Regions from separate parts of the Homo sapiens genome. Here regions 2, 3, 4, 5, 6 and 7 are each linked to region 1. Evidence: promoter capture Hi-C in 16 types of primary human blood cells and fetal thymus (Javierre and others, 2016). All regions are on one chromosome and are shown on one strand. The core of a region is centred on a gene start or on the middle of the fragment in contact, and the rest is flanking DNA. Distances in the headings are between cores, read along the strand shown. Region 1 holds the start of ID2 (inhibitor of DNA binding 2). Region 2 has its middle 130 kb from the start of GRASLND. Region 3 overlaps LOC101929452 (a long non-coding RNA gene). Region 4 overlaps RNF144A (ring finger protein 144A). Region 5 has its middle 200 kb from the start of GRASLND. Region 6 has its middle 320 kb from the start of LINC01871. Region 7 has its middle 180 kb from the start of GRASLND.

Evidence for each region. Contacts are between HindIII fragments. The CHiCAGO score rates a contact against its expected background, and 5 or more counts as called.
Region 2: a fragment that was not itself captured here is called in contact with the fragment with the promoter of ID2 in region 1 in 1 of 17 cell types (total B cells); the score reaches 8.4 in total B cells.
Region 3: a contact is called between a fragment that was not itself captured here and the fragment with the promoter of ID2 in region 1, in 1 of 17 cell types (total B cells). The highest score is 9.4, in total B cells.
Region 4: a fragment that was not itself captured here is called in contact with the fragment with the promoter of ID2 in region 1 in 1 of 17 cell types (naive CD4 T cells); the score reaches 5.1 in naive CD4 T cells.
Region 5: a fragment that was not itself captured here is called in contact with the fragment with the promoter of ID2 in region 1 in 2 of 17 cell types (total B cells and naive B cells); the score reaches 6.8 in total B cells.
Region 6: a fragment that was not itself captured here is called in contact with the fragment with the promoter of ID2 in region 1 in 1 of 17 cell types (total B cells); the score reaches 7.9 in total B cells.
Region 7: a contact is called between a fragment that was not itself captured here and the fragment with the promoter of ID2 in region 1, in 6 of 17 cell types (total B cells, naive B cells, naive CD4 T cells and 3 more). The highest score is 16.9, in total B cells.

The regions. Positions count from the first base shown.
Region 1 is chr2:8,680,761-8,683,616 of GRCh38, forward strand. ID2 (inhibitor of DNA binding 2) reads left to right here and starts at 1,296. Exons shown (of 3, transcript NM_002166.5): 1 at 1,296-1,753; 2 at 2,083-2,146. The coding sequence starts at 1,406. The coding sequence ends at 2,139. ID2-AS1 (ID2 antisense RNA 1) reads right to left here and starts at 1,103. Exons shown (of 4, transcript NR_110154.1): 1 at 1,067-1,103. RefSeq lists enhancers at 495-998, 1,486-1,535. The HindIII fragment of the contact is 3,638 bases long and covers 209-2,856 here.
Region 2 is chr2:7,049,379-7,052,078 of GRCh38, forward strand. It overlaps a transcript of RNF144A not described here. Among named protein-coding and RNA genes, the nearest start is that of GRASLND, 130 kb to the left of the region's middle. The HindIII fragment of the contact is 7,501 bases long and covers 1-2,700 here.
Region 3 is chr2:7,066,127-7,069,028 of GRCh38, forward strand. The region is part of intron 2 of LOC101929452 (a long non-coding RNA gene); the gene reads right to left. It also overlaps a transcript of RNF144A not described here. Among named protein-coding and RNA genes, the nearest start is that of GRASLND, 150 kb to the left of the region's middle. The HindIII fragment of the contact is 549 bases long and covers 1,086-1,634 here.
Region 4 is chr2:6,918,912-6,921,611 of GRCh38, forward strand. All of the region lies in intron 1 of RNF144A (ring finger protein 144A), which reads left to right. Among named protein-coding and RNA genes, the nearest start is that of GRASLND, 1.6 kb to the left of the region's middle. The HindIII fragment of the contact is 1,970 bases long and covers 266-2,235 here.
Region 5 is chr2:7,112,849-7,115,816 of GRCh38, forward strand. No RefSeq gene overlaps it. Among named protein-coding and RNA genes, the nearest start is that of GRASLND, 200 kb to the left of the region's middle. The HindIII fragment of the contact is 1,401 bases long and covers 674-2,074 here.
Region 6 is chr2:7,407,033-7,409,732 of GRCh38, forward strand. No RefSeq gene overlaps it. Among named protein-coding and RNA genes, the nearest start is that of LINC01871, 320 kb to the right of the region's middle. The HindIII fragment of the contact is 169 bases long and covers 1,263-1,431 here.
Region 7 is chr2:7,093,862-7,096,747 of GRCh38, forward strand. No RefSeq gene overlaps it. Among named protein-coding and RNA genes, the nearest start is that of GRASLND, 180 kb to the left of the region's middle. The HindIII fragment of the contact is 1,351 bases long and covers 948-2,298 here.

The DNA of each region.
Region 1 (2,856 bases), core at 46-2,545:
GGTATTTAAGTAAATAGCTGCAAACTTTTTAAAACTTAGACTGAAAGAACGAGTTCTTAAAAGATTTTCAGCCAAAAAAAAAAAAAAAAACCTTGAACCCGTATTCAGTACTAGTGCTGAAAAGATTCCAAACCTCATATGACAGAATATTTTTTTTTCCTTAGTGTGAAGATGTCTATCAATGGCTAGGGCCACCTATCTGTCACAAAGCTTTGGAACTCCTCTAGGTGTTGGAATGTGACACCAGAAATCACAATTAGTGCATAATTAATCACATTACTTTGCCACCTACACGGAAGGGCACAGACCGGCAGCCTTTCAAGGGCAGTGTATGTAAATGTAGTTTCAATATGCAAATTCTCCTAATTATTTCCGATTAATACGATCATTATAATAGCCCTGCCTCCTTCTTGAAAAGGAACCCTGAAAGCGCCCTGCCTGTGAGAGCTCCTTAGCGACCGGTGAGGTTGGGCATGGTTTGCAATAAGTACTCATTTTCTTGAGTTTACAGTAATGCCTCCCGCGCTGCTCCGGGTTGCAAAAGCCCACACTAAGCCTGTCGTCGAATGCGTGCGTGGGTGGTTTGTTTGTGTTAACATAACTTTTCCTTATCTGAAGAGACGAACTCACTCTACAAACGTGACTCTTCAGTGACAACCTAATTTGCGTTTTCACTTTCTTCTGAAATGCTTTCTATCTTTCCTCACGCTCTCCCTCCGATGGGTTGCAGTGAACTGTGGCTTCCCCCCTGCGGTGCTGAACTCGCCCGTGTAGCTGTGATTTTAGAGCTGCCGACAGCTCTAAGGTGTGTAGGGCTTGGTCTGGGAACACCCCCAGGGCAAGGGTCCCGCCGCGCGCTTGGAATTAGAATTAAGAATGCATATTTAGGCGCCCAGGGTCTGCCCCCTTCTCCCTCCTCCTTCCCCTCCCCCTTCCCCTCCCCCTTCCCCTCCCCCATCTTCCCTTCTCTTCCTCCTCCCTCCTCCTCTCCCTCCTCCCGCCTCCCTCCTCCCCGCCCCCCGCCCGCCGCTCCCCGCCCCCCGCCCCCCGCCAGCCCCGCACTTACTGTACTGTACTCTATTTACCACCCCAGCTGGGCTCGCGCCCCGCCCACCCCGCGGGGATTGGCTGCGAACGCGGAAGAACCAAGCCCACGCCCCGCGCCCGCGCCCACCAATGGAAGCGCCCGCTCGTCTTGATAGACGTGCCACCTTCCGCCAATGGGGACGAAGGGAAGCTCCAGCGTGTGGCCCCGGCGAGTGCGGATAAAAGCCGCCCCGCCGGGCTCGGGCTTCATTCTGAGCCGAGCCCGGTGCCAAGCGCAGCTAGCTCAGCAGGCGGCAGCGGCGGCCTGAGCTTCAGGGCAGCCAGCTCCCTCCCGGTCTCGCCTTCCCTCGCGGTCAGCATGAAAGCCTTCAGTCCCGTGAGGTCCGTTAGGAAAAACAGCCTGTCGGACCACAGCCTGGGCATCTCCCGGAGCAAAACCCCTGTGGACGACCCGATGAGCCTGCTATACAACATGAACGACTGCTACTCCAAGCTCAAGGAGCTGGTGCCCAGCATCCCCCAGAACAAGAAGGTGAGCAAGATGGAAATCCTGCAGCACGTCATCGACTACATCTTGGACCTGCAGATCGCCCTGGACTCGCATCCCACTATTGTCAGCCTGCATCACCAGAGACCCGGGCAGAACCAGGCGTCCAGGACGCCGCTGACCACCCTCAACACGGATATCAGCATCCTGTCCTTGCAGGTAAGACCTGCTCCGGGGTCCCCGCCCCGCCGCCGCACACTCCCGCGGTCGTCTGGGCTGTCACTAGGAGATCCGTAGCCCAGACGGTGACTTTCGTATGAGCTATTTAACTTTATTTTCTTCAGAATCTGCTGTAGATTGAGCTGTGCGTGAAATTGCTAGTAAGTTCTGACATGTTAATGCGTCTGTCTTTAAATCTGAATTGTTACCATAAACGTGTTTAATGGAACTTGCTGGTCTGTGGACTACAAAAAAAAAAAAAAAAAAAAAAAAACCCTTTCTACTTAACATTGTCTTAACCTCGTACTCTTTATCCTCTTTCTTTCCAGGCTTCTGAATTCCCTTCTGAGTTAATGTCAAATGACAGCAAAGCACTGTGTGGCTGAATAAGCGGTGAGTGTTTGCTTGTGCCACCCGTGGGTAAACTGCCCCTCGGTGTGTGTGCGCGCGCGCGCATGTGTTTTTGCTTGTGTATCTATAAAATGTCTGATTTGGTAAATGCATGCTTACTTCGCGGTGTTACCCGTACTACATTGTCTCACTAGACATGAAGGAGCTTGTAGCTTTGGGTGCTCGAGATCACAGAACATTTTCCTTTAAAAGGAAATGATGCCAATAACTTACTACGAAGGCGGCCGAGGAACGTGTGTATTGGCTTTGTAGCAAATGTAATGCCCTGGATCTTCCTACGAGTCCTCTGGTACTATGAGGTACTAACCTCCACTGTAATTAATCTTACCGCCACAAATTCCATAGTGATCCTCCTTCCCTAAAACTATAGTCCTCTGGGATTCTCTGGGCTAGTTGAGGATTGCTACCCTGTGCCTTCAACCCTGTGATGTGGGATCCCAGACTTCCCTATCTGTTAACTAAAGGGCTGTTTTCAATCAAATAATTGTTACGAGAAGCAGACTGGCGCCTGTAGCACTGCTGTTGGAGATCCAAATAGGAGATTGGGTTGGGAAGTTTTTCCCTTGAGTCTCTGCTATTTTAATGTTTAATTTGCGCTGTCGAGGCGAGTGTGTGTGTTGCATCTGGACGCCAGGGTTTGCCCAATCTTTGAGTGTTTGGTTAAATGTTCAAACTGTGGCTTCCTCCCGGCG
Region 2 (2,700 bases), core at 180-2,679, 1.6 Mb before region 1:
ATCAATGGTAAGGCAATGAATGAGAAATGGCTGATTAGGTAACATCATTCACACTCAGGAGAGAAAACCTCTGGAGATTTTGTTTGCTGATTTCACCTGGCATACAAAATCCTGAAAAACGAGTCTCTTGGAATCCACAAAGGATGAAGATGACAAAAATTCAACTGTGCTCAGCGATTTGAGTTTTCAACGACACGAAAATGAGGTTGCAGTCAGAGTGGATCTTTTTCTCATTTCTGCACAACTCTTAATACATTGTTGGTGCACAATGAATGTTAAATAATAATTTAATGTTTTTATTAATGACAAAGGAGGAATCAACATATTAATGAAACTTGCAGATGATACTAAGCTGGGAGTTATTACAAACACCAATTAGGAGATGAAGACGATGAAGAGGGACCGAGGAAAGAAAGTTCCAACAAAGTGAGCTTCTGTCTTGCAAATACAAGCAAATGCACCTGCAAAAAATGTGTACTGTGGGAAGCTCAGAAGGCGAGGCTAACACAGGCTTAGGAGGGAAAGCAGTCCAAATGCAACGGCTTTTGGAAACGCCAGGGGCAGGATGTGTGATGAAAGTCATAAGAAAAAGCACAATCTCCTCGGCTTTTTCAGTCGAAAATGCATTCGATACCAAGTTTCATTTGGTTGCACGTTGGAAGCTGGTCATGACTTTGAAGGAAGAACTGTTTGCCTTTCCCAGGAGATGAATTCACGAGTGAGTAGGACCTGGTTCCCTGTCCTCAGTTCGGGTCCTGATATGGTTTGGCTGTGTCCCCACCCAAATCTCACTTTGAATTATAACAATCCCCACACGTCCAGGGTGGCGCCAGGTGGAGATAATTGAACCATGGTGGTGGTTTCCCCATATTGTTCTCGTGGTAGTGAATAAGTCTCAGGAGATCTTATGGTTTTATAAATGGGAGTTCCCCTACGCAAGCTCTCTTGCCTGCCGCCAAGTAAGACATGACTTTGCTCCTCCTTCACCTTCTGCCATGATTGTGGGTCCTCCCCAGCCATGTGGAACTGTGAGTCAGTTAAACCTTTTTTCCTTATAAATGCCTCAGCCTTGGGTATGTCTTTATTAGCAGAGTGAGAACAGACTAATGCAGGTCCTCTTCAGTCTCTCGTGGACACACCTGGGGCCTCCTAAAGTATCTTCTGCTCCCAGCCTCCTCCCTTCTCACCATTCTGTTCCTGGGGCATTCTCTGTTTCCATCTTGTGATGCTTCTGTTGAAAACCATTGAGAGCCTTCTGCTTCCTGTGTCGTTAAATCCAAATTCTTCACCGTTGCCTATATTTCAGTAGCATAAATTCTCTCATATACCTTTAAGGGAATGGAGAGCAACAGTCTTTTGAAAGACAAGCAGATTCTTGGCTCCCTCACTGGCCTCCATGGGGAAGACTTAGGACTCTGTATACCAGCATTGGAGGGGAATGTCGAAGGGAACGGGAGCTCCCAAGGGAGGAAGTGCTGGAATCCCAGTGCTGTCAGGACCACTCAGACCCCGTCTATATTTATAAACAAGGAGAAGCTCAGTGAGGCAGAATGCCTCGGGTGCAGTCTTGAAGCTAGTTCCTGGCAGGGCTTGGACTGAAGTTTAGATCCTCCCTTTTCTTCATCAGTGCCTTGGTACCACACCACACAGACCAATGCAAATGCACGGAGACATCACAGTCTAGTGCGGCAGGCCGGAAGGTGATGATCACACTCCACAGGTGGTAGCAGAGAGGAGCTCCACCCCCTGCAGGAGAAGTCAGAGCAAATTTCTGGAGGAGACGGAATTGGGGTCGGGGATGGAGAGAGCAGGGGGTTGCTCAGAGCACAGATTGGGAGGGAATGCCACCACACAAACACACCCATGCAAGTAAAGCCGCAGACGCCCCAAGAGAGCTTGGCAAACCTTCAGTGCAGAGCTGAGCTCCAGTAGGGTGAGGGGATTGGAGGTGGAGCAGGTGGACGGGGTAGAGCGGTAAGGGACAGAGGGGATGCACTTTTTAAGGTTTAAGCCAGGCTGGAGGATTTCAGGTTAAGGTTGGTGCTGACACAATAAGATATGGGATTTGCCTACGCCACGGTAGCTGCATGTAGGGGAGCTTGGATGCAGAGGATGAGGGCCAGGACATGAGGTTAGGAAGCCGCCAAAAGGAGCAGCGAAGAGGAGATGGGGGTCTATGCCCAGCCTGTGGAGTGGAAAGTAACAAGTATCAGTAAAAAGACAGTTGAGGGCAGGCACAGTGGCTCACGCCTGTAATCCCAGCACTTTGGGAGGCCAAGGCGGGTGGATGACCTGAGATCAGGAGTTTGAGACCAGCCTGGCCAACATGGTGAAATGTCATCTCTACTAAAGATACAAAAATTAGCTGGGCATGGCGGTGGGTGCCTGTAATCCCAGCTACTTGGGAGGCTGAGGCAGGAGAATCGCTTGAATCCAAGAGTGTGGCTCCCAGATGAAGATGTTCTGCCCTGGCTGCTCCACTCCGGTCTGGTCTGGCTGCTTCAACCTCATGGGATCTTCCTGAGCTTAGTGCTGACTTCCAAGAGTATCAATGAATCCCCCAGTATTCAGAATAACCCAAGGACACCCTCACCCAGGTATGCCCAATTCTCACTCATATTACTCCTCCCTTAGTCCATCTTAATTAGAATGCCTAATTGGAAGTAACATAAATACCTCCAAAATGCCCTATTGCCTCTG
Region 3 (2,902 bases), core at 110-2,609, 1.6 Mb before region 1:
GCCCAGGCTGGAGTTCAGTGGCCGGATCTCGGCTCACTACAAGCTCCGCCTCCTGGGTTTACGCCATTCTCCTGCCTCAGCCTCCCGAGTAGCTGGGACTACAGGCGCCCACTATCACGCCCAGCTAATTTTTTGTATTTTTAGCAGAGACGGGGTTTCACCGTGTTAGCCAGGATGGTCTTGATCTCCTGACCTCGTGATCTGCCCACCTCAGCCTCCCAAAGTGCTGGGATTACAGGCGTCAGCCACCATGCCCGGTCAAGTTTTTCTCTTTTATCTTAAGCTATCTATAGCTTAGAACAATTTGGTAATGTATTTCTTTGTGAATAAAGAAGAAATAATTACTTTTGCCTCCTACCCGATCCCTCTGGAATTAGAAAACTATTAGTAAACATTTTTATTTTATGATAATGTAGTTATTTGCATATGTGCAGTAAGAATATGTTTTCCTTGTAACAGTACACAATTGAAAACACTGGATATATTATGAAGGCCTTAACTGGAATGTTGTATCTTCAGATATGACGACTTTAAGAAACTAAGGTTGACTTTATGGAGTCAATAAAGCCTCTTGGAAAAAAATTATCGCCATGTTGTGTTGCATACTTGGTTCACTTACATAGTTTTCTTCCGGGTGAATAAAGAGTGTCACTTCCTGGCAGGCCTAGGAACCCCAGGATATTTTGGAGACCTATAAAAGGGATATTCACTCAAATCCCTAAGTATTTCAGAAACAGCCTGAGAGCAAGTCCTTGGCTTCGCTTTCTAGTTTTAAAAGGCTTTTAACTGTTTAGTCTGAGATTCCCCTAAAAGTTCCAGGAAAGCAAACTCAAAAAGAGCCTAGGTGGTCAATCATTATTTTTGCTGCGTTTATATAAATAATCAGGCCAAGTTAATGAGACTAAACTTATTTTGCAAGCAAATCAGTCTTTGCTTATTTTTGGTAGGAATGGGGGTAAATGGAGAGAGAGAAATTATGTTTCAGAAGAAAACTATAGCACACCTCTTATTGAATTTTAGCCTTGCTCATTGTTTTTGTGGTTTTCTGATTTGTCTACACACTGGACTGGATCCTGAATTCTCCAAGCTTCCTCCAAAATCTGGCAACCACACTCCAGACTAATATTTCCAATTTTCTCCAACCCTTCTGACTTGGAGTCATTAAAATTAAAACTGCTCCTTTCCTGGAGCCCCAAAAGCTGAAGCTGGAGGACTTGATACAGACATCAGAGAGATCACCACAATAGCTCAGGGGTAGACAACCTTCGTGGTGTTAAAACTGAAAACCAGGAAGGTCTATCAACTTGCCACTGCCTGCTCCCACACCACTTGAAGAGGCTTCAAGCTCAGTGTTTAGAAATCTTTTTGATTGGCTGCCCTCTGGGCTCAGAAACTGAGTTTCCGACTATTAAAAAAATCCCCTCATTAAATGCCTGACTGCTTGCACCATCCAGTATGTTGGAACTATCAAGTCCCAACAGGTGACTCAGTGGGTTCTTAGTGAACAAAAGGTGACCACATGAGAAAATGGAGTTACAGCGTTCAAAAGAAAGAAGAATGTCTCTCCTTTCCTTGAACAAGAGGAAGGACTAACAAAAACTCCTTGCTTGGCCAAACTGTAGCCAGTCACCTGAAGCTTCTCCTATGTCTACCTGTGTACTTCCTTGTAAAGTCCATTTTGGGCTAAGAACGCTGCTAAGTCAGTTTATCAAGAACTCCCCCACCCTTGATATCTGACTCAGTATTTTCAATATATGACCAAGTTTCTCATTGTCCATCATCCCCAGGTGATGTCTGATCACCTGGCCTGTTTTCAGCAAGAATCCTGTTAGATTTCTGTAGCCAGAATCCCTGCACCCTCACCCCGATATCTCCTCTTAGTAATTTTCTATCTAGTGGTCCCCACCCTGCTCCTTGGATATAAATTCCCACTTACCAGTGCTGTGCTCCGAGTTGGGCTCAATCTCTCTTCCCTGTTGCAAAATCCCTTTGCAGTGGTCCCTCTATTGTGATGTGATTTACACAAGTATCATTGAGTAAGCTTTTCTGTGCTTTAACAAGTATCAGTGAGTAAGGTTTTCTTTAACAGGGTGATGCCATCTTAGAGAAATGCATTCTCCATAATACTGAATCTGAGTGTCATCTGTAAGAGGTGGGTTGTTTATAACACATTTTAAAGATAAGATTAATACAGAGTAATTCATTTGGGTAGTGGCACCGTGAAACTTTATAGTGAAAATGGTGGTAGGATCTAATGATTGGCTTTTGGGCATTATAGAAGAAAGAAGAATCAAGAGTGGGTTGAGCTTCAGATCCCTCTGGCCGAGAGGATGGTGCTGCTAACAGAAACAATAAGCAGAAGAAGCAGAAAGAGAGGGTGATAGCAGTGATTTTGAGCATTGATATGTTCATCCAGGTTGAGGACATCAGAGGAGAGGAAGAGCATTTCAAAATGTCAGACTGCACTGGCGAATCCGAGTCAGACAAAAGCCAGGCTGAAGATGCCAGCCCAAGGGCTGGGGGTTTTGCTGAGCATAACGGAAGCAGCTGGGTATGAGTGAGGAAACAGAAGTAGAACAATGAGAGATGGCAGATAGAGACGGGGACTGAGATTTCAAGTTCTAAGAGAGAATGATCTTGGAGGATGCCATCAAAGCAAAGTCACAGATAATGTGGAGATGGCCATTACGAGTCTAGGACCCAAGGGGCTTGCATAGACCTGAGTATCATTGTCCCATATGCTGAAGTCACCACACACACACCTAAGTAGAGGCTGCCTGGCACCTCCTGGGTTCCAGCCTCCGAGGTGAGTGTGTTTTCACAGATTATTACAGTGCCTTATCTTCACAGCAATCCTGAAAGGTAGCTTTTGTCTGTGTTTCACAGCTGAGGAACCTGGAAA
Region 4 (2,700 bases), core at 1-2,500, 1.8 Mb before region 1:
TCTAGCTCCTGCACTAAGAGCCTGGGAAGAAAACACTTCCCGTAATGGGGCCTGGGAGATGGAAGGAGGACATGCCCCAGTGAATGGGGCTGGGGTTGAGAGTTGAGCCTGGCAGATAAGATGGATTTGTAAATGAAATGCCAGGTAGAAAGTAAGTTGGTGTAGACGCCTGTGGAGCTGTGGGAGCCCCCAGGAGGGAAGGGAGGGAGTCAGGGTGTCCCTGCAAAGGGAGTCCCCTTTGCAAGGGAGGGGGTGTCTGAGTCAAAGCTTGCAGGTGGGGCAGGTCAGAGGTGGCAGGAAGGGCCTCTGTCCAGAGAGAGCTGCTCCAGCGCAGGAAGGGGGAGGGACAAGGTGTGTGACACCGTGAACTTTCCCAGGGGATTCACCCAGTGGCTCCAAAGGAGACAACAGCCTTTTTTATTGTATTCTCTTCTCCGGTACTGAGATTAGGGAACCTTGTTTTTTGCACTTTTCTAATGCCTTTTACATTTTTGTTTTTATTTTTAAAGCGTGCAAAGGAAATGTGACTAGAGGGGTCAGAAGAGGATAAATCATGAAATCTTTGAATTCTAGGCCAAGACTTTGGGTTTGACTCTGTGTCAGTGGGAGCCATTGATGGTTTTGGAGGAGGAGGGTGATCTGAGCCCTGCTTTAGAGTGATTTCCGCGGTGTTGCGTGGAAGGGAAGGCATGGTGTGGTGTGCCTTACTGTGGCTTCCGAGTCAGACCCCCACTGGCTGTGGGCTTCCACCTGCATCAGGCATCAAAGGCTGTGGATGGATTGAGGACCTCATGAGAAAATGGGTGCAAATAACCCAATTTTAATGGGATGGAAATTTTCCAGACCCAGTGCAATTTGATTTTTGCAGTTTGTGTTTTTAAAGAGCTCCCGATTCTAATGTCAGCAACTCTGGAAGAGGAACTAATGAAGGGCAAACTCAAATGCACGATGCAGGCACCCCCAGGTCATCTGTGCCATGAGGATTTGGGAAACTCAAAGAGCATTGTAAAATGCATATATTTTATAAATAGATTCCAGTGCCCTCAGCTTGCTAGTTGGTAATCCCTGTATCCAGACTGTTGCTAGAGTAAGTCACGTCTCCTGGGGATTCAGTGTGGTTTGGGACTTTGAAGGGACCTCACACTGTTTGGCTGAAGCTGCTGAGGTTCAGGGGTAGAAGTGCCACTCTGGCAGGCGGCGGCAGGGTTGGGAGCTACAAGCTACGTTGCCTGCCTCTGAGAACATTCTTTCCCCTGTGGTCCACCACGTGGCCCCACTGCCTACTTTTGTTCACATTTCTCCCTCCTGGAAGCCTTTCCCTCTGGGGGTAGAGATGGGAAGGAAGCCTGCCCTTGGAGACTGACAATCACAGAACCAGGTGGGCCAGCACCCACCTGGCCTATGAACCCTTGTTGTAACCATGGGAACCTCGTAGCTTGGAAAGGAGGGGTCAGGTAGCCCAGGCCACATGAAAAGCTGTGGCTGGTCCAGCCCTGGCATCAGCTTTTCTGGTTCTGTCTGCTGTCCCTTTTTTCCCATACCTCACTTGCAATAGAAGAGGATGAAGCCGTGCTCGCTGCCCTGCACGTTGGGTGGTCTGGAACCATTCAGGATGATATTGAGCCCTCAGACTCTCTTAGAGCAAGGAACCCCTGGCTTCACAGGATGTGGGATCTCAGAGGCAGCCCAGAGGCGGGGAATGGAATGGAGTGCTTCTAAGGAAGAGGGACTCTCCGTGTTTTCTCTGGGGAATTTTCTAACATTGAGATCGAAGAATGAAGTTGGAGGTGCCTTTCTTTTCTTTAAGAAGTAATCATTTCCAAGACTAGCCTCCTTTCTCCGTTGTTTCTGCATTACTGAAACACATGAATACCCTTTCTTAGTTAGATGAAGAAATTAAATTGAAGCCACTGCTCACATACCTGCTGGGTAGTGGGGCTGAAGGATAGAGCTTATTACAATTTCCTGACCCAGCTGTCTGGCCCTGGGCCAGCGTCTTAACCTCCCTGGATGGCTCCAGTTTTTTGAGGATAAAACTGAGGTGTTGGTGTAAATATTTTCCAAGATCCAGAAATAAAAATGTACTGTTGGATCATATTTTTTTTCCAGGAGAATAAATATTACAGGACGACTCACCAAGTACAACCATTCGTAAGGGTTTGTTTGTTTCCCAAGAGAAAATATTTTAACTTTCAGAAGAGTGGATTTTTTCCAAAGTGAAATGGTGAGAAATGAAGCTTTGAGGAGGGTGGCTCATTGCTGATAGGAGCCTTCACCTTGCTTCACTCCACAAATAACCCAAGACCTGAATTTAAAGGTGCTTACTTCCTGGATGTTCCGTAGAACTGGAAGGCAGGCTTTCTCTAAGGAGCAGGCTTATAAGCTGGATGCAGTGTTCCAGACAAAAGCAAGCTCCTTGGTGGCATGCAGTGTGTCAACCAGTATTTTATCATCTCAGGTGTGTTTGGCACTAGAGGTGGAGGAGGTGGTTGATACTCATTATGGATTTGCCTGATCTTCAGGGCTTTGCTTGCATCGTGGATGCAGTTCTCACACAGCCCTGCAGCACAGGCGTATGTTGCTATCCCTAGCTGACAGAGGAGCAGAGTGAAGCAGAGAGCAGGGATGTTGTCCAACATCGCACACACGTCGTCAATTTTGAAGCCTGGCTTTGAACCCAGAGGCCTGCAGATAAGGATA
Region 5 (2,968 bases), core at 124-2,623, 1.6 Mb before region 1:
ATATGATTATTCCTTTTTTTTTAAATTAAGACTTCTCTATTGACTTCTACTATGGAAGATGAGAATTTAAAGGTCAAACCACACGCTCTTCATGTATATTTTTCATTTAAAGAATGATTTTTTCTTGTGTACCCAGCAATGATTCTTTTTGAAATGAATTTTAGAATCCCATTCAATGTAGTCAACTCCATAGAAAATATATTGATCTCATTGCTGTATTTTGAGACACCGTTCTGAGACCTTCCATCTGCTGGAACACGGACAGCTCCTCACTGGGTCTGTGGCATTGGTGTCAACTGGGACTTTACCAATATCCTGTAAAATTATTTTACGTCACAAATATTTTGGTATTCCTGTTTTCTAAATGTAATGACTTCCTCTTTTGTTTGGAGTCTCCTCCTTCAGCCGTTGGAGCAAATCTTTTGGTCTCTTATTGAGAACTTTGGCAGAGGTGGTAAATCTAGTGACACATTGCATGAAAAACATAAACTTACTTGGGGCTAATATTTTGGTTTGCTTGGATATATAATTCTAGATCAGAAATGGCTTCAATCTCAGAATGTTAGATTCTGCAGATATTGCTGCATTGTATTGTAGTAATCATTTTTAGGTTCGATAAATTTGGTTCCTATCTGAGTCTTGTTCCTTTGGAGACACTTGCTTCTCCTCTGAAAGCTTTTAGTCTCTTATCTTAACTTCTAATATTCTGAAATTTTGCTGTAATGTTTCTTGCTCTGGATTTTTTTTTCTTTCTTTTCTTTCATTTATTGAGTAAAGCACTTTCTGGAATTATTATTTTTGAGGTCTTTAATTTTTTTCAAGTAACCTTTTTATTATCTTACCTTTTCCTGTTTTCCCTCTTCTACAGTTTTAATAGTTTTATAGTGTTCAAATTTCCAGGAGATTTTTTTTCAGACTTAGCTTTCAGCCCTTTTCTTGAGTTTTAAATTTTGTCTATTATGGTTTTAATTTCCATAATTAAAAACTCTATTTTAATATATAGCTCTATGATTCTTTTATTATTCACTTTAATCATTCTTATTTTGTGGCTGCAAAAATTATCACAGACTGGCCTAAAACAAAGAAATTTATTGTCTCGCAGTCCTGAAGGCCAATATTCTGAAATCATATTGCTGTATGGAAATCCAGGTGTTGTCAGGGCTGTCTCAAGAGCTCCAAGGGAGGATCTGTCCTTGCTTCTTTCAGTTTCTGTTTGCTGACAGCATTCTTTGGCTTGTGGCTACATCACACCAATCTCTGCCTCTATGGTCACATGGCCACTTTCTCTCTGTATGTCAAATCTTCCTCTACCTCCCTCTTACAAACATACAAGTGACTGCATTTAGGGCTCATCTGGATAATCCAGGAAAACTGCCTCATCTCAAGATTCTTAACTTAATTACATCTTCAAAAATCTTTTTTTTTTTTTTCAAAAAATTAACATTTCCATGTTTTAGGAATTAGGACCCAGATACCATTCAACGGCTATTATTCAGCCCATCACAGTTATTCAATAGAAAATAAAAATACTTTGCTTCTGAGAGATTTTCTTAGATCATTTATTTAATAATTCTCTTTAATTTACTTTGTTTGCACTTTCTGGAATTCTTAATTTTGAGATCTTTGATTTTTTTCATACTAATTTTTTTATTTTGTTACCTTTTATTTCTCATCTTCTATAGTTTTTGAATTTCCAGGAGGGTTTCTCAAACTTAGCTTCCAGCCCTTTCCTTGTGTTTTAAATTTTATCTATTATAGTTTTAATTTCTATAAAAACTCTATTTTAATATAGAGCTCTTTGGTTCTCTTATTGTTTGATTTTCATAGCATTCTGTTCTTGTTTCATGAATACAGTATCTTATCTCCTTGGGGATATTAAATCTATTTTTAAAAGTTGTTTTTCTACTTATTGTATTGCCTCCATTTTCTTTTTCTCTGCTCTTACATTTTGATTTGTCTTTCATGTTGGAGGCTTTCCTCAAATGGCTAGTGCTGCTTGGTTTTCTGCTTAAAAACTCAAATACTAAAAAGCTGATTGGAAGGTCTATGTGTATGTGTGGCTTATTAATTGGCAAGCTTCACTTAGAGTCATGTTGCTTGGGATAGACAGGATGGTGCCCTAGGACTGTATCTTACATGTTGGGCTCTTCCATTCTCCAGAACAATTCTCTCATCGCCTGCCTGGGGTGTGCTGAGACCCAAGGAAAGAAGGAGGTTGGGAAGACTTCCTCTTTGTTATGATGACTTATTTATTTCCTGTGTCTTCAGCCTCATACTTTATCTTTTCTCTCTTCTTTACCAGCTACCTCTAAATCTAGAGACTCTGGTTCAATTTCTCCATCTTGTCAACACCTGGTATCCCGCCTGGACAGAGGAGTGTTGTTTCACTACTCAGGGTGGAGCACTTGGGCTGGAGTGCATGCTCTGTCTGGGAGTCTAATTAGCCTTTCTTTTTTTATTTTCTCTTGTGACTACTGCTTTCAGAAGTAAGTGGGGGTTCCAATTTCTAAGATTTTCTATGGCCTTAATAAACAATTGAATTTAACATACAACCATTTTTATTTATTTATTTTTGGATAAACAACAGACACTGAGCACAGTCCATGTGTCAGCTACGCTGGGCATAATCTGGGGAATGGGATTGTTTGGTGAGGTGAAGTATCAGTAGAGGAGCATGCAAGAGATAATCAAGAATTAATTGAGAACAGTCAGGACAAAACCAATCAGAAAAGTCCCTATGTGCTGTACCTTAGAGGTTGAATTCATTTTGTGGGCAATGGGGTTCCCATGAAAGGTTTGAAACAGAGAAGTGTAAGTGTCTGGCAAAAAGCTCAAAGAGAGCTTGCACACAACATTTCTCCATCTTCTTTCATTGTCATTGCTTTTCCTCTTTGTGCCCCCATTCTTCTTCCCGTTTCTTCCTTTATAATCTTCCTCAGAATAAACACTTTCATGTATAAATCTCTCA
Region 6 (2,700 bases), core at 97-2,596, 1.3 Mb before region 1:
TTGCAAAGAGCTCTATACTTTACACATGACAAATGTGATTTCAAATACTCTCAGCTAAACACCAACTACTGGGGCCTCTTGTGTTTGCAAGACAGCCAAGCCTTCAGACATAGGCTCAATATTTCATGGCTGATGAGATGTAAAATCCTCTCCTACGATAAAAGCGTCTGTGAATGTGTGAGTGACAAGCGGCATGGCGTCGTGAAACACGTGGGCTCCAGTCCTGGCTGTCCCAAGTCCCTCTCTGAGTGACAGTCTGCTCATCTGTTGAATGGGGATTATTCCCCGCATTGCCCACCTTACAGGGTTAGGTGGGGTCAGAAGAAAATCCATTTGAGAAACTGCCTTGGAAATTATAAAGTTTTATGTACATGTTACTAATATTACGAATAGTCTAAGGCTGACATACTCTCAGGAATATTATGATTCTACATAGAATCTTTATCAGACAATAAACCTAGACTTCCCAAAGACCTTACCTCTTTGTTAAAACAAGAACACTTTATATCACATCCTCTTTGGCATTTCCCTCAGAAAAGGCCTGGAACAAAACCATGTAGACCGAATTCGGTCTGTCTGGTGCTTTTGGCGTTGCATTTTTTTTTTCCTCCCTGCATTTCTCATTTAAGCTTGACAATATCCCTGTGAAGTAGGTAACACCTCTGAGACTTCACCTTTGATGAACCAATGCTTAGAAATTTGAAGATTTCTCCAAGACTCAGCTAGGAGGAGTCGGGATTGGAACCCATGCCTTCTGATCCTGACAACTGAGGCATTGTCAGTGGTCGGCTTTCTTTGGGGGATCCAGCAGGCTCTGGTTCAGTCTTTCTTGGGAGCTTGCTGCTTTAGAAAACCTTTTCTCATTTCTGTTTGGTCATATGAGATTTCATCTCTGGCTTCCCAAGCGTCTCTGTGGGAAGGGGACTTGAAGCCAGTTTGGAGTTTTAGTAGAAACTTCTCCAGTACAAGGCAGGTACTCAGGGGTGGGTGCAGACTTGATTTTACAAGTACATCTGTTCTGTTTATTTTTGCTTCTTTGCAGTATTATCAACTTCTGCTCCATATGGGTGATCCATATTGTGCCTTGGTGAAATGATACCACATTATGCTTTTATGCCTTTATCATCAAACACTACTCATGAAAAAATCACCAGGTTTGCCTAGGTTCATCTGTTCAATTTATTTTTCCCAAACTTTATTTTGAATAAAACACCTACGGTAAATGTGATTTATGTAAATGAATAAAACAAAACTGTTATATAAGCTTTTTTGACATCATTCAGTCCCATCCTGTCGGGGCGCCACTATACAAAATCCTCTGGCAGCATGTTTTCCATAGGATTATATTATTTCTGAAATCGCAGAGCCAAAGAGATAAAACTATAATATACTTTCAAATGCTTTAATTTAATTTTTTCTCTTCTCTCCCCAAGCTTCCCATATGGAGGAACTCCAATATTTTAAGAGAAGCTTTTACTTATGAGAATCTTGCAGCACTATTCCAAGTGCCTGTAGCTATTCCTCTCTCTCATACTCTCTGCCTTTCTCTATTTTTCTCACACCTCGCTCCCTGATTTTATTTAAAGAATGGCAATCTATCTTTCCTTCCCCCTCCCTCCTTTATTGTTATATTTTCTTACTTTCTACCCCCTGGGACCCTGAATGGAAGAATTTTCATTTTCCAAGCTGGTGCTAGGGGCCAAGTCCTGTGCCCTGGATTGACACACATCATCTCACGTATTTCACAGGATGCACAGCCCTGGCAGGTGTTCTTATCTCCACTGGGCAGATGGGAAATGAAGGCTTGGGAAGCTGAAGGGCCTGCCCGGCTCAAGGGCACAGCACTAGACTAACGGTGGTGCCACTGAACTTGGGGACATCCATGTGTATGCAGGCCATCTTGGAGGATGAAGGCCTTTGCGCTCACTCTTCCACTGATGGAGACCACTATGTGTAGTTAATGCCCTGGGTAGCAAGCCCTGGCTTCTGCTAACCGAGGCTCACCACATGGGAGACCCAATGGGTCATTTCATCCTGAGGAAGCTCCCGAGGGCCTAAATGTCAGCCTGCACTGGCTCCTTTGTTCCATAAGGCAAGGAAACTGAGTCCCAGAGAGAAGGTCACGGCCTTCCCAAAGCAACACATCTAGCAATACGAAGTGTGTGATAATGAGATCCTTGAGCTCTGTGTGCAGCATGCATTTCCTTATCACCTAACACTCAATTGAAGACCCACACTGGCCCCAGAATGAAGAAGTAAACCACTGATTAATTCACTAAATATTAGTTTACAAGAACTTCTTAAAGTACATGTGTTATATCAAATGAGGTAATAGACATTTACATTTAACATACTATATGAAAGCTTTTTCAAATTATACATTAGTTAAATACATGTTATTTTGGTTGTTGTAAATGTGAACATTTAAGAACAAAAGTGAATTAAACTTAATCCTTCCATCATAAACAAATGTCAGCTGGCTTGGGTACCTTTGGCTCATTTTTATCATGTTTGTTGAGAGCTCTGTCTTTTATCAAAAGTTGAATTTGCATTACTATTGATAAATCCTCTACAAGATTTTTCAAAGAGTTCTTTAAATTTTGTTGTAATTTCAGACACAATATTCAAGCACTGAACTCTTCAGCCCAGTGATTTTCCTGTGGATTACTCATCAGAAGATACACACTTACTATAGTAACT
Region 7 (2,886 bases), core at 373-2,872, 1.6 Mb before region 1:
GGAATCACTGGCCTGAGCCAGAAACAGGAAAGCAGGGGAGAGAGGAGGCGACGGTGGGGACGTGTTCCTCGATGTGCCCATTTCCTAGTTGTTACGTGTATGTGTGCATGTGTGTGCCTGCGTGTGTGTCCGTGTATGTGTGTGCGTGTGTGTGTGTGTGTGCATACATGCTCAGCAGCACAGCCTGGTGAAGGGCCTGGAGTGGCATGGAGGGAAACGCAAGGTGAATCTGAAAAAGAAGGACCACCACAGCTGAGAGAAATTTGCAGGAGGGAAATGTGGGGGAGAGCTTGGAACTCTCACTGTCTCTGGAACGGGGGTCCAACAAGCTCACCTCAGCGGCTTGAGGGTTCTGATCACTGCATCTGCCGTGTCCTAATGTTACAGTAGGTAGCTAGTCAGGCATGAGCAGGGCAGGGGAGGGCTCCCCACCCACACACCAGGAGTGTCTGGTGACGGTCAGGTGACGGTCAGGCGGTTGTAAAGTGTCTCGCTAAAGTAATAATTGGTCACAGCTGGCACCAGGGAAAGGCCGTCTCCAAATAAAAAGAAAACACCTAAAACTGGTGATCAGCAGCTTCCCAATAAGATCTCAGGAAGTGGGCGAGTGAGCTCAAGCATGTGCATTAAGAGGCAAAGTGATGGAGTTTAACTGTTGTATGACCTTCCTGTAGGAATGCTAGTCTGGTAAGGAAAGAATGCCTCAAATAAGCATGCATACAGCTCCAGGAAACACATAGCACACGCTCCACTCCCAACTGCTGGCAGGCCACTGTGCGTGCAGACAGCCCGCCCCAAGGGATGAATCGGGAGAAGGGACACAAGACCCCGGAAGCATGCCAACATATACAAGCCCAAGTCAAAAGGTCAAACCCTGCACTTGTCCTTCAAGTTACCTGCTTGGGCCTCTTCCAAGTGTACTTTCCTTCCTTGTGTTCCTGCTCTAAAGCTTTTTAATCAACTTTCACTCCTGCTCTAAAACTTGCCTTGTTCTCTCCTTCTGCCTTATGCCCCTCAGTTGAATTCTTTCTTCTGAGGAGGCAAGAATTGAGGTTGCTGCAGACCCGTAAGATACGGATTCGCTGCCGGTGACACTAACATAGATGCTGAGCAATAATCCAGAGCAGATACCAGTGGCCTGAGTAGGGGGTTGTGTGACGGAAGGAAGTGTGTTCTTTCAGGATACACTTAGAAGGCAGAATCAGTGGGACATAGTGACTAACTGATGATGAATCCCACATTTCTGTCCTGGGCACCTGGACGATGGTGGGGCCTCCACTTGGTGTGCAGGACTCAGAAGATGGAGCGTATTTTAAGGGAGCAGGAAACTGGCAAGTGTAGGTTTGCCCCAGGGAGTTCAAGGTGCTGCAGAATATCCAAGTGGAAAAGTGACCAGTTGACTCAGATTCTAGGCTTCAGGGGAGACACCTGGGTTGGCAACATAGCTCTGGGAAGATTAGTTTATACTTTGAGACCTATCTGAATTTTTCCATGTGAAAGCATTTAGTTTCATGGATGGAGATGAGTGCATTTGGGTGGGGCAAAGAGGAGACAAGCTCAATGAGCAAAGAAACCCTGTGAGGAGGGAGGGCAGGGCCCTGCTGCAGGGAGAGGAGGCTGGGGGGGAAACATTGCTCAGGGACACACACTATTAAGGCTGTCCTGGGGGTGGCAGGGCCTGTCAAATAGAACTTCGCTTCATGCTGCCTTATCCTTCCCGGGTATGAGCAGGTGTTTGGTGCCTCTTCTGTGCCGGTCAGTAGATTCCCCAGACGGGGCAGTAGAATATCTGGGGGCAGCTGGTCACCTCATACACAGGGCTCAGGAGGAAGCGTCTCCTAAGTCCAAGTGGTAATTTTTTTTTTTTTGAGACAAAGTGTTGCTCTGTCACCCAGGCTGGAGTGCAGTGGCACGATCTTGTCTCACTGCAACCTCCGCCTCCTGAGTCCAAGTGATTCTCCCGCCTCAGCCACCTGAGTAGCTGGGATCACAGGCATGTGCCACCATGCCCAGCTAATTTTTGTATTTTTAGTAGAGACAGGGTTTCACCATGTTTGCCAGGCATGTCTTGACCGCCTGACCTCAAGTGATCCACCCATCTCAGCCTCCCAAAGTGCCGGGATTACAGGCGTGAGCCACCGTGCCCGGCCCACGTGGTGAATTTTAAGTGAGCGGCAGATCCTGGCTCTTCACCATCACTTTTTCCCGTGAAAGACATCCAACGATTGAAAACCTTTGAATTTTTAGCTGGTAAAAGCCTCAGCATTTACTTAGCAAATATTGAGACATTGGATGGGAAGCTTCTGATGTTTCAGGCACTGTGTTCCCTGTTCTGAGGAATAAATAAGATACTTCCCTGTAGGATCTCAGAGATTAGCAGGATGATGAGGCAGGAAAGGGGCCAGGTACTAGGCATGGAGTCCCCAGAATGGGGCACAGGGCTGGAAAAGGCCGGGGAGGACAAGCTTTCCTCCAAGGAGAAGGAGGGAGGTGGCTTTGAACCGACCCTAGAGAGAGGCATGGTGGTTTAGCAAAAGGACCCTGGGGTAAGCCATTTAGGAGGCACAGACTGGGGCCAGGTTTTGTTAGCAGCGGAAGGTCTCTGAGTCACAGGGCACCAAAGTATGTTAGCAGCAGCAACTCCGGACCAGTCTGCAGCAACCTCATTCCTTGCCTCCTCGGAAGAAAGAACTCATCTGAGGAGCATTAGGCAAGGGAGAGACTGAGGCAAGTTTCTGAGCAGGAGTGGAGGTTTCTTAAAAAGCTTTAGAGCAGGAATGAAAAGAAGGAAAGTACACTTGGAAGAGGGCCAAGCAGGAGACTTGAAGGACTAGTGCAGGGTTTGACCCTTTGACTTGGGGTTTTATATGTTGGCATGCCTCCGGG